Linked DNA regions of Homo sapiens: region 1 is linked to region 2. The links are contacts of gene promoters, found by promoter capture Hi-C in human tissues and cell types (Jung and others, 2019). All regions are on one chromosome and are shown on one strand. Each heading gives the region's core, a stretch centred on a gene start or on the middle of the fragment in contact. The rest is flanking DNA. Distances are from core to core; before and after follow the strand shown.

Region 1 (6,012 bases), core at 1,986-4,485, 300 kb before region 2:
TCGAGAACAGGAACTGTTCTAAAATAATATTTTAATAATCACTCATTTTAAAACACACTGTTATAATAATTGAGAGAAAATGTGCTATAGTATTCGAACATAGTGATAGTGTAAAGGTCTGGGAAATCTGACCCAGTGAAGCCACAGCCGCCCAATTCATACAACATCCACATGGTGATGCAGATCATACAGACAGAGTGAAATGACTCTGTCCAGGGGCACTACGTGGGATGAAAATGTCATTATTTTCACATAGTGAAAGTCATTTACTCCTGAACTAGAGATGCCCCAAAGCACAGACTGAGGAGAAATTCAAGAAGAAAGCATAGCATTAGAAAGCAGATGGCGTTGAAGGAAGTTTACCAAAGGACCCTTCCCTTTTAATTCTGTGCCTGTGGATTCTCCAGTAAGTTAGAATCCCATCATTTTAAAAATTATAAATACAATATATTACTTTCTTTTGCCATTTTGAACAGAATAAGTACTTGATAAATTCTCACTTTTGCTGGGAGAATTAGGAAATATATAAGATTTTTACATAATAAAATTTGTTTCTGGCTTTGGCTAAATTTTTCATCAATGTAAAATAATAGCTAATATTACTGATTGTTTACTGTGTCCAGGCACTCTTCTAAACACTCTACATATGTTATCTTACTAAAGCCTTGTAACTTAACAAGGTGGGCAACTAGACAGATTTGCAAGGTATGTGTTTGACCAGTGACAGCCACTGAAAATGTTAATTTGCTTTCCTCACTACCCCCCTACTCCAAAATGTCCTAGATCAAGTTCAATGAAGAACTTGCCAGAGTGGGACCAAAGGAAAAAATCAGAGTAAACTAAGAACAGTTCGTCTTCCCTACCTCCATTCTCTTGCTAGGAGAAAGGTAAAATTAAGATGAGCTAAAGAACAGGAAGAGATCTTTTGGGGTCAGATTCAAGTTCCTGGATGTGAAGAGCATGTTGCATGAACCCTGACTCCTGGTTTGGGGGAATCCATTAGACAGCCATACTACAGTGGTACAGTGGCACCACAGGAACAGGAGACTGGCATCTTGCTTACCAGCTTCTGGTCTGCTTAGTCTCAGGGTTTCCTAACAAAACTTAGGGAAAAGCATTTTGGAAGGAAGGGATGGGTATTGGCAGAAGAGGGCAAGGCTTAGCCGCAAAGCTACTCTCGCCACATACACACCATGTCTCCTGAGAGGTATAAACAATTGGATCACAATAGGGACATCAAAAGATGGGTAGGGATGGAAGGGAAGGCTTGTGCCAAATCGACCGCATGCATCAGAGGCACATGCATGGGAGTTGTAAGTAAGATGGCTTCAGATGGAAGATGCATCGTAAAACTTCACAGAAACCGCAGATGCCTAGACAGTGGCTCAGGGCCATGTTCATCACCATCCAAATCTATAGGTCCCCCACATCAGGAGATATTGATGAAATTGATGGATGGTGATGATCAGCTTTGGAATGTGCAGCAAACTAGCCATCACCAACATACAGGTAGCCAAAAGAAACCTGCTTCCCTAACACCAAATCTACTTTCCTCCCTCCAGATACAGTGAAAGGAGAGAGGAAAACATTCCACATCCTTTTCTTCCATAAGTAGCTCCCAAGTGAATGTGTGTGTCAGTTCAGATCCTCCTGGAAGCAGATACCAAGGCAGAATTAGATCTGCAAATGATGAATTGGGGTAAATGACTATGAATAATAAAGGAAAAGGAACAGGAGTAGGAGGGAAGGGGCTTCAGACCATGATGCTCATCTGCGACCTATGAAAAGAAAGAGGAAGGGAAGAAAAGTGGTAAGGCAAAGCTCCAGACTGTGATGCAGATCTGAGAGTCTTGACCAGGTCAACAAGGCACCCCAGAGCAAAGTTATCCCATTAGAGGAATCCCATTTTGGACAAGAATGGCTAAGCTCTAGTACCCCTGCCATGCTCAGTTACTGTCTGAGAGCAGCCCAGAGACCATATAGCCTCATCACGCTCACTTCAATGGACCCCAAACCTGCAGCATCTAGAGGCTGTCAACTGACTCTTCTCTTTGCAGAGTGTTCCCACTTCAAGGAAAATAACAGCAGCATACACCAATAGCTGCCACAGGATCTGTTCAGTTTATCCTGGGATGGCTGTATAGGCTTCAAACTTTGACATTAGAGTGAAATTATAAGGATTTTTCTCCAAGCCAGGGTTAATAATAAGATCAGTCACAACCTATTCCCATTCAGCAAGTTATAGAAAATAATAGAATGCCTGGTTCATCTGTTCTACGTCAATCGATTTTCACATTCACGTCCTCCTGCCTCTTTCGCATTCCTACCATTCAACCACGTTTGTCCCATCAACACCCACTCTGGGAATCAAGACCTCTTTCAGACAGACAGCAATGCAGATAAATTATCATTTGGACATTGCTTTTCGTAGTTGAAAAAATGCTTTGTGAATTCTTTTGACTGGTTTCTGTCTTAACTATCTCATTCATGTTAAAAGAATAAAAATGTAGTCAAGAAACAGATATCACCCCTAGTTTGTGATAGATCCCAAACCAAGCACACAGTGATATGAATTCTGGAATACTGTTATTTGACTTAATCATGGAGGCCAGACGAGGTTTAATCAAAAAAATGGCCCAAAGTTGAGATCTGAAAAGGGGAAGAAAGATCATTCCGGGCAGAAGAATCAACTTATGCAGTGGCCCTCAGTGACTTTAGAGTGTAGACTTTAGTGTCACTGAGATGAAGGAGATGGGTGAGAGTCAAACTTTCTTAGGAGTTTTCATTATTCTAAGAGTAACTTTGGGGTTTTAATAGGAGGACTGGAATAAAGGGACATTATATGGTCAGATTTGTACTTTGAAAAAAATCCCTCTGGATGAAGAATGGAAAACAGATGGGAGAATGGATGAGGAGCTCAGAGAAGGTTAGGTGTAATATTATTTTAGTAGTAGTAGCAGTTCAAGTGAGAGATGTGGCTATCTTGAACTAGAGTGTGGATATGGAATAAAAATTAGATCATTTCAAAATATGATTAAATGACAAAATATCCAAAATTCAGTGGTGAATTAGATATGGAAACTGAAAAATTAAGGTGTCAAGATAACTCCTAAATTTCTAGTTGGCACAACTGGATGGATGATAATTGCAATCACTAAAATAATAAATACCAAGAGAGAATCAAGTTGGAACAAGGCTATAAGTTCAGAATTGAACAGTTTACCAGTTAGGAATCTTTTAGTTGAAAGTGATTAAAAAGCCCAACTCAATCTAGCTTAAACAAAGAAGGGAAGTTATTGGCTAATGTAATTGTAAAATATACAAAAAGGGCTGACTTCAGCAGTGGCCTCATTCTGGAATAAAATGATGCCTCCAGGAGCCATTCCTTAGTTCTGTGTCCAGAGTTGGTTCCTGTTGGTGGGTTCATGGTCTCACTGACTTCAAGAATGAAGTTGCGGACCTTCACGGTGAGTGTTACAGCTCTTAAAGATGACACAGACCCAAAGAGTGAGCAGCAGCAAGATTTATTGTGAAGAGCGAAAGAACAAAGCTTCTACAGCATGGAAGGGGACCCGAACAGGTTGTTGCTGCTGGCTGGGGTGACCAGCTTTTATTCCCTTATTGGCCCCGCCCATGTTCCATTTCTGTCCTATCAGAGTGCCCTTTTTTCAATACTCCCTGCATTTGGCTACTTTTAGGATCTTGCTGATCGGTGCATTTTACAGAGTGTTGATTGGTGCATTTTACAGAGTGCTGATTGTTGCATTTTACAATCCTCTTGCTAGCTACAGAGCACGGATTGGTGCATTTTACAATCCTCTTGCTAGCTACAGAACACTGTTTGGTATGTTTTTACAGAGCGCTGATTGATGCATTTTACAATCCCCTTGCGAGCTACAGAGTGCTGATTGGTGCATTTTACAATTCTAGCTACAGAGTGCTGATTGGTGCGTTTTACAATCCTCTTGTAAGACAGGAATGTTCTCCAAGTTACCAACCCAAATGTCCATCAATGATACACTGGATTAACAAAATGTAGCACATATACACCATGGAATACTATGCAGCCATAAAAAAGGATGAGTTCATGTCCTTTGTAGGGACATGGATGTAGCTGGAAATCATCATTCTGAGCAAACTATCACAAGGACAAAACTAAACACCGCATGTTCTCACTCATAGGTGGGAATTGAACAATGAGAACACTTGGACACAGGGTGGGGAACATCACACACCGGGGCCTGTTGTGGGGTGGGGGGAGGGGGAAGGGATAGCATTAGGAGATATACCTAATGTAAATGACGAGTTAATAGGTGCAGCACACCAACATGGCACATGTATACATATGTAACAAATCTGCACATTGTGCACATGTACTCTAGAACTTAAAGTATAATAATAATAATTTTTTTAAAAGTTCTCCAAGTCCCCACTTGGCCCAGGAAGTCCAGCTGGCTTCACTTCTCAGTTCTACTTCCTCTATGTTGGTTGCATTCTCAGACTTTGCAAGGTGGCTTCCGGTGGCAGCAGGCTCACATCATCACAAGAACTAGTTCAGTGAAAGAGGAAAGTCTCTTCTCAAAATGTCAAACAAAAAAATGCAAAACCAAATATCCTCAGCATTTATAGTCTCAATTTGGGTATATGCTCAATCCTGAACTATTCACTGTGGTGATGAAATATGCTAATTATACCCCGGACCCTGAACTTAAGGCATTTTCAAAAAGAAGTTTATGGATGAGGGCTGGGCGCAGTGGCTCACACCTGTAATCCCAGCACTTTGGGAGGTTAAGGCAGGCGGATCACGAGGTCAGGAGTTCGAGACCAGCCTGGCCAACATGGTGAAATCCCGTCTCTACTAAAAATATATATATACAAAAATTAGCCGGGCGCAGTGGCAGGCACCTGTAATCCCAGTTACTCGGGAGGCTGAGGCAGGAGAAGTGCTTGAGCCCGAGAGCAGGAGGTTGCAGTGAGCCGAGACCACACCATTGCACTCCAGCCTGGGTGACAGAGCGAGACCCTGTCTAAAAAAAAAAAAAAAAAAAAAAAAAAAAAAAAAAAAAGAAAAAGAAAAAAAAAAGTTTATGGATGAAAGTGGAGGAGGATTACATATCCCAACAAAGAATCAGCTACCATTGCCACAAAAAGGATAAATGGATATTGGGCAGCAAAAACAACATAAAATTATCTCTTACAGCTGAACACAATTTCTGAGATTAACAACAGGCTCAATGTGGTGGACATTTAAGAAGATGAAATCCTCATTGATAAAGATGGGGTACTTGAAATGAGCTCCGAGCACTGGCAGAGGTCAAGACTATGGGCTACCAGTAACAACCTGCTTGACACAAAAACACAGACTGCATGGGGCAAAAGCAACATCAGACACATTCAAGAAAATCTGTTTTCTCATGAAGGTTCTCTGGAAAGTCCAACAGATGAATTGCTATAAAACAATCAGAATTGATTTTTTTTTTTTACTTATATTTCATTCACATTACATGATGTGGATTGAGTTAGTCTTAGTTTTTTCATTGTGTTACGGACTCCTCCAGGTATTAATAGAGATATGTAATGACTCTGGCATCTATATGCAGCCTTCTTTATCTCCTGGTGTTTTAGCCAGACCTATTTCTGCCTGAGAAGACTTAATGGTACACAAGAAACCTTTTGGGGGCTCTCGGTATGAATGAAAGTGAAAAATAAATTCCACTAGGGGGTGCTAAGCCTCAAAATAAAAACACAAAACAAGTATCTTTGATTTTCCCATACCTTTCAACAATCATTGAACAACTGTCTTAATCTGGATTCTCCAGAAAGCAGTGCCTGAGACAAAGTTTACGTGCTACTACTTTATTATAGGATGCAATCCCAGGAAGCAAGAGTGAGGGAAAAGGAGAGTGAGGCAGGGGAAATGTAAGAGCTGATACAAGAATACATATTACTGAGCTGGTCATCTCTTGGTATTAAAAACTACTGATTCCTTGATCTTACAGTGCCTTTCACCAA
Region 2 (5,540 bases), core at 253-2,752:
ACAGGCGGCCACCACCACACTGGGCTAAATTTTTTTAAAGTAGAGACAAGTTCTCCCCATGTTGCCCAGGCTGGTCTCTAACTCCTGGCCTCAACCTCCTTATTCTCTAGGATTACAGGCGCCAGGCTAGACCTCACAGGTCTTTAGACTTCTACGCACCAGGTACCTGGTAGGGGGAGGGATTATAGTGGCAGAAGAGCAGTACCAGTGGCCCACACCACACACCCTGGCCTCAGCTGGCTGGGGCACACAAAACCAGGTGCTACCGTCAACGACTAGGCCCATAGGGTACTGCTGTCAAAACCTGCTGCCAACAACTTCCACACACTCCCCAAAACGCTCGGTAGGCGGTGGTGCGCAGCTTTCAATGCATCCGCCGCCAGGCGCTCACAGGCAAGGGAGAAAGAAGCCAGACGGAGCTCGGAGATGTGGAGGGCAGACGCAGGCGCATTTGGAAAAGGGACTGGCGGTGGGAGGCGCAGAGGGAAAAAGGAACGACACAATCGGGCTTCCTAGCCGCTGGCGGACCCGATGGGGCGTCCTGCGAGGGTTCGGCGAGGGTTCTGCCAGGATAGTAGCATTGCGCCCAAGGAGTGAGAGGCACCCGGGGCTACTGGAGCCAGACCCTCAACCCGCCCTAGTGGGAGGCGAAGAACAACGAAAGCCTCGTATTCCCATTTCTCTAATGGCTAATGACATTAAAGGTTTTCATATGGTTATTTGCCATCTGCATATCTTCAGTGAAGTGTCTGTTTATGTCTTCTGACTATTTTCTAATTGGATTTTTAAAAATAATTGATTTTTGAGTTATTTACATATTCTAGATACTGGTTGTATGCCAGATATATGGCTTGTAAATATTTTCTCCTAGGTAAACCTTTTCAGTATCGTTACAGGGTCTTTCACAAAGCAAAAGTTTTAAATTTATGGAGTCTAATTCATCAACATTTCTTTTTACCGGTCTTGCCACTAATGTCAATTTAAGAACCTTTTGCCTAGCCTTAGACAATAGTTTGTTGTTTTTTAAAACCGTTTTGTAATTTTACTCGTCACAGTTATATCTAGCCACTTAATTTTTATGTAAGGGTTATTTTTGGCGGGGGGGAATCTATAGATGTCCTGTCTTTTCAGTATCATTTGTGGAAAAGATTATCTGTCCTGCATTAAACTGCTTTTGGACTTTCGTCTAAAATCAGTTGGACCGGTTTTTGTTGGCAAAGTTTTGCCTGAAGCTTATTCCAACAGGTGAGAAAAAGTCCACAGTTTAACAGTTCCTCCCCAACCTGTAACCCCGCCTTGAACTTCTGGACTAGCCCCTCGATTGTTGTAGATGCCAAGCGGACCTCGCGCCGCTCTGCGTTGGGCCAGCCCCTCACAGCTGGTTTCTTACCACGTATTGCGCAAGCGGAATCTATGCCTGTTACCCACACTCCCTGCGCCCCCGCACCCCGCTCCTGTGCGCAAGTCGGAATATAAAACCGCGGAGGAGTGAGCTCTTGGGGTGTCCAGTTGGTTGCCGCGGCAGTCTCTCCGAGCAGCGCATTTGTCTTCTAGGCTGCTTGGTTCGTGCCTCCGAGAAAGGTAAGTCTTTCTTTCGCTTTTTTAGGGGTACTTGAAAACAACAAGTGTCAGACAAAGCAGCAGATGCTGTTGCGCAGTAGAAGTTTATGGGCGAGTTGTCCCTGAAACTGGAACCAGGTCTTTCTTGGCGCGATTACGCAAGAACCACCCGCAGCCCTGCGGGCTCCTGGCAGGTCCTGCAACTGCACTTTGGATAGTCCCGTTGGGAAGCTAGCACTTTTTAATATAGAAGAACGAGGTTTGATAAGTGTGCGAGCTTAAAGGTTGACACAGTGTCCACTATTACAGCTGCGTAGGTAGCTAGTGTTCAGGAAGTAATAGTGGAGTCATGTAGTGTGAAAGTAAGATTGAAATGGGCGAGGAGGGTAGCAGCCGCCACAGCCACCAGAGAGAAACCTGACCTTGCAGGTGCGTGGTGATGTCCATGAGCCAGGCTGGTGCCGCAACAGCAGCGGCGGGACCTTGAGCTCCGCACGGCCGCTGGGTTTGGACGCCCTCTGGTTCCTGGAAACTTTCACCTCCCCCTCAGCCTGAGGCCAGGTGGCCTGGGAAGGTGGAAGGAGTGTGGAGGGGAGTGGGGGGGGGGGTCCACTGCCTGAGAATGAGAATTCTCTTCACATCTGGAAACTTCAGTTATCACGTGTGTCCTTTACCAATTTTTTTTCTTTTATTTTCTTTTTGATAGAGACGGCGGTCTCCCTATGTTACCCAGGCTAGTCTTGAACTCCTGTGCTTAAGCGATCCTCCCACCTTGACTTCCCAAAGTGCTGGAATTACAGGCATGAGCCAATGCGCCCGGCTGCTTTACCAATTTTCTATGAATGAATTTGTACATACATCCCCTAGAGCAGGAAGTAATGTAAAACAGAATAATTAGTAATGCACATTTCCTAATGTGGGATGTTGGTGGCCAAGAGATATTTGGTCTTTACTGGAACTCTTGATACTAACATGGAGTTTATAATAGTTGTGGAGAGTGCAGACAAGGCTAGGATTTCTGTGACTAGAGAACTCTTAGTGCGTGAAGACCTAAGGAAAGCTGGATTGTTGATTTTTGTTAATAAATAAGATGTGAAAGATTGCATCACTGTAGCAGAAATCTCCTAGTTTTTTAAGCTAAATTCTATTAAAGGTCATCATTGCTAAAGGAATTGTGCCCAGGATTTGGATAGCTGATGTCATTACTTAATATTAGATGATATCAACTAACCACATCTCATAGACTGGAATAAAGTGCTAGATTTTACCTGAAAGCTGCAAAAATGAATGGTTTAGATATATGTATGTATTTATTTTATATCAATTTCAAATATTTACTGTATTAACCTCCCTGGCCCCCTTTAATCAAGAATATAAAATCATCTACTTAAATTTTGCCACTTAAGTTTAGAACACTCTTAGAATCACACTATCTTAAAGAAGCCAGACTAGAATTAGAAGCAAGTTAAGTCTGAAGATATAACAACCAGCAACAACATTTTTTTTTTTCAAATGAAAACTCTAATATGGGGTGGGTATGTTGTGTCACACCTGTAATCCCAACACTTTGGGAGGCTGATGCAGGAGGATCACTTGAACACAGGAGTTCAAGACCAGCCTGGACAACATAGCAAAACCCTGTCCCTACAAAAAATAAGAAAATTAGCTGGGCATGGTGTCACATGCCTGTAGTCCCAGCTACTCGGGAGGCTGAGGTGAGAGGATTGATTGATCCCAGGAGGTTGAGGCTGCAGTGAGTCATGATCGCATGACTGCACTCCAACCTGAGGGACAGAGCAAGACCCTGACTCAAAAAAAAAAAACAAAAAAAAAAAAACCACCACCAAAACTCTAATATGGACATATTACTCTCTCATGGGACTTGCACATTCTAAAAAGGGTCCTTTTCCCCAGTACTGGGAGAGTATGTGTTCAACTACGCAGCCAGCAAGACAGGCTAGTTTATATAGGGAGTGTGCTATTCACAAAAAGCCTCTCTTCTCTTTCTGGTATTGTACATGACACAATCATAGCTGTACCTGAAGAGAAGTGCATTTTAAGGACCATCATCACCTAGAAACATGTATAAATTTCTATACCTAGTGCCACAGGAATGACATTGCCTTGTACTATTCCTACCTCTGTCCAGAGGCCAGCTATGTGGTCTGTCTGCATGGTGCCTAGAACTTTTTCCATCTGACCTAGGATGCTTCTGAAGCAGTCCCCCTGGGCAGCTGTCTGGTATTTAGGATATACCTGTGAGAAAAGTTTCTTACAAACCTAATCTACTATGTTTATTCCTGAACTCAAAAAGTTCATTGACTGTTCAAATCCTGAAATTTTCTCTATTTCCATAAGGCTGAATTAAAAGTACTTTGTTAAAGGTAGTAGCCATGGCAAAAGAAAAACCACTGTTCTGTAGAAAAACTCATTCAATATTTACAATCTTTTCTAATCAGAGATTAGATCCTGAAGAGAAAGGTTCATATATATATATATATATATATATATATATATATTTTTTTTTTTTTTTTTTTTTTTTTTTTTTTACTCCACTGTCATTGTGACTAAGGATTCATGAACTAAGACCCCTCCCTCAGCTCTTGGTGGCACATGGTGACAGCATGCTCAGAGCAAAGGTGCTCCCCATGCCTCTTCTGGGGCTGCACTGACTGCAGGTACCTCCCCTCTCTACATCCCACACCACTGATACCAAAAACCCCCTCCTTTCTCCTGTACTGATGACTCTGTAGCTTTAACCAGGGCGGCGGTGTCACTCTAAATGTCACCTTGGCATTCAGCCCCATAGAGTGGGGAAAATTCCCTCACCTGTTTCTCTTTGACTGTTCAGTCCTCTTCAATTAAAATCTTAATTTTACAAGCGAGGAAATGAGAGTGTTTCTTGTAGGGGTGTAGTGAGAATTTAATAAAACAGTTTAAGGAAAGAAAACAAAAGGTAGTATTGCTGCACTTTCTAGATGGTAAAAAGCAAACCACCATGTCTGTTTAATATATATCACCTGCTGGTCCCTCGGTCTAGCAGGCTGAACTGTGTGCCTGGGAATTTTCTTCTCGCTGTGTGCACCCCTTTACGTCACAGGGTGGACTCTCTTCAGAGTCCTAGTGGAGCAGCTGGCCAGGCTGACATGATCTGACAACATTGTAGGTTACCACTACCATCTCTCACCGTCTCACTTTCTTCCTAGGGGTCTCCTGCTGCCAGCTAAGTGTGGGAGAACTTGTGCACGTATCTCCCCTCCGAATCCCAACGATGGGTAACGCCAGCTTTGGCTCCAAGGAACAGAAGCTGCTGAAGCGGTTGCGGCTTCTGCCCGCCCTGCTTATCCTCCGCGCCTTCAAGCCCCACAGGAAGATCAGAGATTACCGCGTCGTGGTAGTCGGCACCGCTGGTGTGGGGAAAAGTACGCTGCTGCACAAGTGGGCGAGCGGCAACTTCCGTCATGAGTACCTGCCGACCATTGAAAATACCTACTGCCAGTTGCTGGGCTGCAGCCACGGTGTGCTTTCCCTGCACATCACCGACAGCAAGAGTGGCGACGGCAACCGCGCTCTGCAGCGCCACGTTATAGCCCGGGGCCACGCCTTCGTCCTGGTCTACTCAGTCACCAAGAAGGAAACCCTGGAAGAGCTGAAGGCCTTCTATGAGCTGATCTGCAAGATCAAAGGTAACAACCTGCATAAGTTCCCCATCGTGCTGGTGGGCAATAAAAGTGATGACACCCACCGGGAGGTGGCCCTGAATGATGGTGCCACCTGTGCGATGGAGTGGAATTGCGCCTTCATGGAGATTTCAGCCAAGACCGATGTGAATGTGCAGGAGCTGTTCCACATGCTGCTGAATTACAAGAAAAAGCCCACCACCGGCCTCCAGGAGCCCGAGAAGAAATCCCAGATGCCCAACACCACTGAGAAGCTGCTTGACAAGTGCATAATCATGTGAGCCCTGGGCCTTAAGAGCC

The links. Contacts are between HindIII fragments. The study calls those that stand out against the background at their distance.
Region 1: a contact is called between a fragment that was not itself captured here and the fragment with the promoter of DIRAS3 in region 2, in 2 of the 25 tissues and cell types used here (H1 embryonic stem cells and mesendoderm cells).

What each region holds. Positions count from the first base shown.
Region 1 is chr1:68,346,096-68,352,107 of GRCh38, reverse strand. No RefSeq gene overlaps it. Among named protein-coding and RNA genes, the nearest start is that of RPE65, 100 kb to the left of the region's middle. The HindIII fragment of the contact is 6,161 bases long and covers 155-6,012 here.
Region 2 is chr1:68,046,589-68,052,128 of GRCh38, reverse strand. It overlaps DIRAS3 (DIRAS family GTPase 3), which reads left to right and starts at 1,502. Exons shown (of 2, transcript NM_004675.5): 1 at 1,502-1,581; 2 at 4,767-5,540. The coding sequence starts at 4,832. The coding sequence ends at 5,521. All of the region lies in intron 2 of GNG12-AS1 (GNG12, DIRAS3 and WLS antisense RNA 1), which reads right to left. It also overlaps the pseudogene ARL5AP3. The HindIII fragment of the contact is 12,521 bases long and covers 1-3,595 here.